Regions from separate parts of the Homo sapiens genome. Here region 1 is linked to region 2. Evidence: promoter capture Hi-C in 16 types of primary human blood cells and fetal thymus (Javierre and others, 2016). All regions are on one chromosome and are shown on one strand. Each heading gives the region's core, a stretch centred on a gene start or on the middle of the fragment in contact. The rest is flanking DNA. Distances are from core to core; before and after follow the strand shown. Region 1 overlaps GTF3C3 (general transcription factor IIIC subunit 3). Region 2 holds the start of ANKRD44 (ankyrin repeat domain 44).

What was found. Contacts are between HindIII fragments. The CHiCAGO score rates a contact against its expected background, and 5 or more counts as called.
Region 1: a fragment that was not itself captured here is called in contact with the fragment with the promoter of ANKRD44 in region 2 in 1 of 17 cell types (total B cells); the score reaches 6.3 in total B cells.

What each region holds. Positions count from the first base shown.
Region 1 is chr2:196,782,341-196,785,040 of GRCh38, forward strand. It overlaps GTF3C3 (general transcription factor IIIC subunit 3), which reads right to left. Exons shown (of 18, transcript NM_012086.5): 8 at 2,517-2,589. Among named protein-coding and RNA genes, the nearest start is that of GTF3C3, 16 kb to the right of the region's middle. The HindIII fragment of the contact is 1,555 bases long and covers 586-2,140 here.
Region 2 is chr2:197,309,393-197,312,092 of GRCh38, forward strand. ANKRD44 (ankyrin repeat domain 44) reads right to left here and starts at 1,388. Exons shown (of 28, transcript NM_001195144.2): 1 at 1,186-1,388. The coding sequence starts at 1,212. ANKRD44-DT (ANKRD44 divergent transcript) reads left to right here and starts at 1,674. Exons shown (of 4, transcript XR_923750.3): 1 at 1,674-2,700. RefSeq lists an enhancer at 239-740 and silencers at 864-1,243, 1,294-1,613, 1,624-1,703. The HindIII fragment of the contact is 14,364 bases long and covers 1-2,700 here.

The DNA.
Region 1 (2,700 bases), core at 113-2,612, 530 kb before region 2:
AGGTCTTTTGTTAGAGAGTCCAAACGGACTAAGACACTGTTCAATAAAATATATCTACGTGTTTTAACTTTCAGCAAGAAAATTATAGTATATGAAATACTTTATATCTCGGCATAGGCCTTAAAAATATAGTGTGTATAGATGCATAGGTCAAAAACCCTGCTTTCATATCAAATCACAAAGTAAAACTCAACCTTATGTTGAATGCAAGATGTATACCTAAAATCAAGTGATTCAGGAAAGCTGAAAATAAAAGGACAAAGGTATAGCAGGCAGGTGCAAACAAAAAAAAAAAATAGGTGTCACAATCTCAATATGAGACAATGTAGAATTCAGACCAACTATATTTAAAAAGGTAAGGAGGTCACTTCATAATGCTACAGGGCAGTGCTACTCAAACTAGTCTGGGACCTGTGCAGGTAAACAAACTGTTACCAGTTCAATCAGGTAAGTATGGAGATTGAGAGTAAGTATTTAGATACTTTAATGGCAACTTGACAATGCTAAGGAAAGCAGTATATATATTTATAGCCCCTACAGCTTATATATTATTAACTAACATTTAACATACACTATCTTTTAAAAAGCTTGTCTTTGTGTCACTGATACTTTATTCTCCTGAACTCCCATTAGGTCTTTCACATTCAGAAGAATTTAAAAATGTGACTGTCAATAGACAATACATAATCTACCATAAATGGTCTCATTTTTTAAAATGCATACTAAAAAACTACCTTTGCTCACTTTGTATCTGTTTTAATCTCCTAGTCTTCTGGACATATCTTTTTCTTTAAAGTTATTTCATCAACACTAAGCTGCCAGATTTCAGATGCACCGTTATTTTACATGCTAAAAAATAAAGAAGCCACTACTTAAACTCTAACCTGTTGTTGATTTATGTTAATATGTGCCAGGAAGGAAGGGAAGGAGGGAAGGAGGGAGGGAGGGAGGGAGGGAAGTAAAATATATTAAACAACAAAATGATTATATCTACAATTAAAACTTGAACAGAACTTGGTATTTCTCTACCAAGTTTTCCAAACAAAGGACAGATTTTCAACACAATTAAGAAGAAAAATCTTAAGCAGAAATTATGACAGTAAAATAATAACTTCATTGGGCCTTGGCTCGTGCCTAAGCCAGGTCCTAGTAAAGTATCAAAACTGGCAAAGCCTCCTTCACATGCCCTAATCCATGCTTTCATCCACAATTTCTACTCCTTATTCTACTCATTCACACCACCCTGATGACTCAACAGCCCCAACCACAGCCTGTGATCTGGTCCTGCTCTTCCAAGCAGTGCTCCTACACCCTGTGACTCAATCTGGATCACACTCCCCATGGGTGTCTGCTTAAATTGGGCCTCTATAAACATCTTCTGATCCTTGTATACTGCTCTCCTCTATTTTCCCATAACATCAACTTTGCTACAGAAATTATCACACAACTCTTAAAACTGTATGCACCTCATTTGAACGCCTCTTCCCGCCTCCACTTCCTTGAGAGCAGGAAATATCATACTCATCTGCGTAGTCTCCACACACCTAGCAGTCCCTTACAAGAAACTTACTGAACTGGGTTTCCCTTCCCCAAAAACTTTCCACTTCAACATTTATCTGTCCCACATCTCACCTTGGGCCTTACTCTCTATGAATTAGCACAGATTGGCTTGTGTAAGTGAATTACTGCTCACCATTAGGATGGATCATGTTTTAAGTAACAGTTTTTGTTTTTGAATAATGATGCCTTAGCCCAAAGGATTACATAATGATGGAATTTTTAGGCATCATGACAGGCCACGGAAGGAGCTGTTATGAACCAGGCAGGACTCAGTACCAACTCACTTGGTCCTTCCACAAATTCCATCAAAATCCTCACAGTGTAGGGGTTGAAGGTACTATACAGGAATTCTCTTACAAGAGCCGGGTTATATACTCTGCTCATAAAGATCAATTTTGCTACAACTTGATGTAGGGTCTTGAATGTTAATATTTTTACAGAATAGGTTAATGAGTATGGTACAAAGAGACTGCAAGCCACACTTAGGTATAACTTTCTAACCAGATCACTAATTATATATTTGAGTTTTCAAACAATGTAGGGTAATCATATTAGTTTCTACTTATTATGTGAATGCTTAAGCTTAAAGTCAAATGTTTTAAGTAAGAGCATTTTAGGTCCTATTTGAAAAGTAAATTGCTTCAGTGCTAAAAGTTTTTGATAAACTTCAGTAATTCGTTTTTTTTCCTAAAAAAAGGAATGAAAAAGACTGTCAATGAAAAATGCCATGTTCAAATGGACATACAGGGACTCAAAACAAATTTTTTTAAAGATTACTTGTAAGTCAATACTCACAAGATATGAAATCTCTGAGAAAAAAATGCTTCTTGGGAAAACTTATTATGAGAACATTAACTATCAACTCACCACAGTATGAAATAAATTTTCACCATAAAACGCCACCTTATGACCAAGAGAGGATTATATACACTTTCCTAAGCAGAGGAAACTACAACCTTTATTCTCTTCTGAGGTGCCTTCTTCTGAAGTTTTTTTTTCCAGCACAATTCCAGAAAAATCTGTAATTATCTAAAAGAATGGGAAAGAAGAAAGGAAATAAAATATGTGTGAAAAACCATTTCATAATGCAAAGATTTGTACAGTTATTTCAAATAATCCCTAATATAAAGTTGGGCTATA
Region 2 (2,700 bases), core at 138-2,637:
ACCTGTAAATATTTAGGAAAAACAAGCTAAAAAAATTGAATCTAAAAGGCAGGAGAACAAATCATTGCAAATCATTGTGGTGACGGACTGCACTTCAGTTGCAAGATGTTCTGGCTGGATACTAACTGGAGAACGCAAGGCAGCAGATGCAACCCATGGACAAGTTTGAGGTATTTAATACCAAGGGCTGGCAAGTCTGACCCTGTAGTCAAAGTCAAGATTGCCTCTCTGCCTACCAGGACCCCAAAACAAAGTTCCTTTCACTACCCACGAATAAACGGGGGTGGGGGTAGCAAGCCGTTTCCTTTTTTCGTGGAAAGAGCTGCAAAGAGTTTTGTCATGCAACTTGGTTTGGTGCCTGTTAGTGTCAATGTAAGAGCAGCAGAGTCCGCGAAGGTGGCTGTTACCATTCCACAGACCTGCGGCGAGGACTGTCAATCCGATTCAGCAAATAACCCCACCTCTCCAAGCCAGGACTCCAGAGCTGCCCTGTGTGGTGTCTCAGCAAGGAAAGCCAACAAAGCTGGTAGACACAGGCAGACCGTAGCCCACCGCCTGTGAGTGGAGGCTCCGAGCCGACTTCACCTCCTCCTCAGAGGGACCGGCCCGATCCGAAAGGGCGGTCTCCAGGGGTCCCCATCCCGCACCACGCACACAGCCTGGCGCAACTAAAGAGGAAGTCGGATGTCACATCCAACGGATAAATAAAGACAGCCCGGCCACACAAGAGCCGCATTCTGGGCAGGACTCCTGCTAGGTTTGGGGAGGGGTCCCAGTCTGCGATCCTTTCTCCCTCTTCGTGCAGCGTCCTCCTCCCCGGGGCCCGGGCCGGCGGCGCCCACGCAACGCGGCGCGGTGCGAGTCCCGAGAGCACCTCGAGCCCCCGGCCCCCTCCCCAGCCCCGCCGGGCCCGCGGCCGCCGCACTCCCGCACGCCGGCTGCCCAGCGCCCACGGGCCCTGCCCCAGACTCGGGCGCGCAGTTCCGACGGCCCAGGGCGGGGACGGCGCGGCGGAGGGGAGCTGCCGCCGCGGGCTCTCGGAGGCACCGGCGGCCGCACACAGTCCTCCCCTTCGCCGCGAGTAAACAGCTCGCGGGCGCGCTCCAGCCGCGCCCCCATCCCCCCGCCGGGCTCCGCGCCGCCCCGCGCCCGCGCGTCCCGCCCGCCGGCGCCGCCGCCCGCTACCTGGTCGGTGAGTTTGAGCACTGCCATTCTTCCGCTCCTTCGCGCGCACACACATGCAGGTCCCCGGCCCGCAGATGTCACGCCGGGAGCCGGGGAAGCGGAAGGGATTGCCAGGAGAAGGGAAAAAATCTGGCTCCCGAATTTGACAGCCCTCCCCCTGCTCCTCCTCCGCCGCCGCCTCCTCCCGCCGAGAGGCTGACACTGGCTAGTGGGGTTTGCAGCCGAGCCCGCCCGCCTTTCCACAGGAAGTACCGGCTGCTGCCAGCCGGGCCGCCACTGACATCACCGCGCGCTGGCTCGCTCGCCGCCCGCCGCCTGGGCCGACGCTGCCTCCTGCCGCCCGCAGCCGAGCCGCGCAGCCCGGCCCCCGGCGCTGCCCCCGCGCCCGCACCGGGCCGCCGCCTGCCTTCCGCACCTGCACGCGGCGCCCGGCCGGGCCGGCCCCGGGCCCTGGGCGGATCGCGGGCCTCCCTGACGGGTCTCACACATATGGGTGGGGAAGCCCGCGGGGACACACCCCGAGGGGGCAGGAAAGGCTCTCACTCACATGCCGTCCACTTTAACCGGGGAGATGGGGTTACGCCCCCTTCCCCTAACCCAGAATCAGGTGGTGGCAGCGCCCCGAAGATCCCAGGGACCGCAATTATGATGCTCCCTTTGTTTAATGCCAGGAGGCAGCGGACACATTGTGATTCTTTACAGGGTGTTTGCCAAACATTTATGGGTGGAGGGAACAGAAGCTCTGGCCCTTCCACCTTGTTCTCCAGCCACTTTCCAGCTAAACACACACACACATATGCACACACACATACTATTGTTAAATTCAAACACCCTGGGTTTGGTTTTTGCTGGTGGGGGTGGAGTGGAGTTCCTGGAGAAGCAAAGCAGTCCTAAATCACCGAGTTGATGGGTCTTTTGGGTGTTCCCACCAGTCCTTACTGATCTCTACAAAATCCCAAGTTACCAAGCTCTTCAACAAATAGAAGACAGCTGTCAAACACCATGGGCTACAGATACAACGGGCATATTCGTAAGCATAGTAGCTGTTGATAGTTCTGGAATTTGGAGCAAACACTTATTCATTGAACAGCTATGTACTGAGTCCCTACCTTGTCAGGCACTGGCTAGGCACGGGAATAAACGGAGAGCATAAATAAGATAACCTGCTCTCAGAAGATGCCAACATAAACCGCATAGTCTCTGCTAATGAATGTAATTACAAACTGAGATAAGGGATCTCAAGGGAAAACATGCTTCTGAAGTGAACCCACAACAAAGGAATCAGACCAGACTGGTGGGTGAGGGCAGGCTTCCCTGAGAAAGTGACAGGAGTTGAGATCTGGAGAAGGGAGAATTAAGTAAGCAAGTGGAGAGGAAGTGCTCCCAGGCAGCCCCATGTGCCCCTGGCAGGCCATAGAGCAAACCTGTAGGGCAGCATTGAACAGCTTTGAAGAGCAAACTAGAGCTACAGAATTCTTTGGTCAAGACCAAACATCTGCCTCTACTGTATATTCA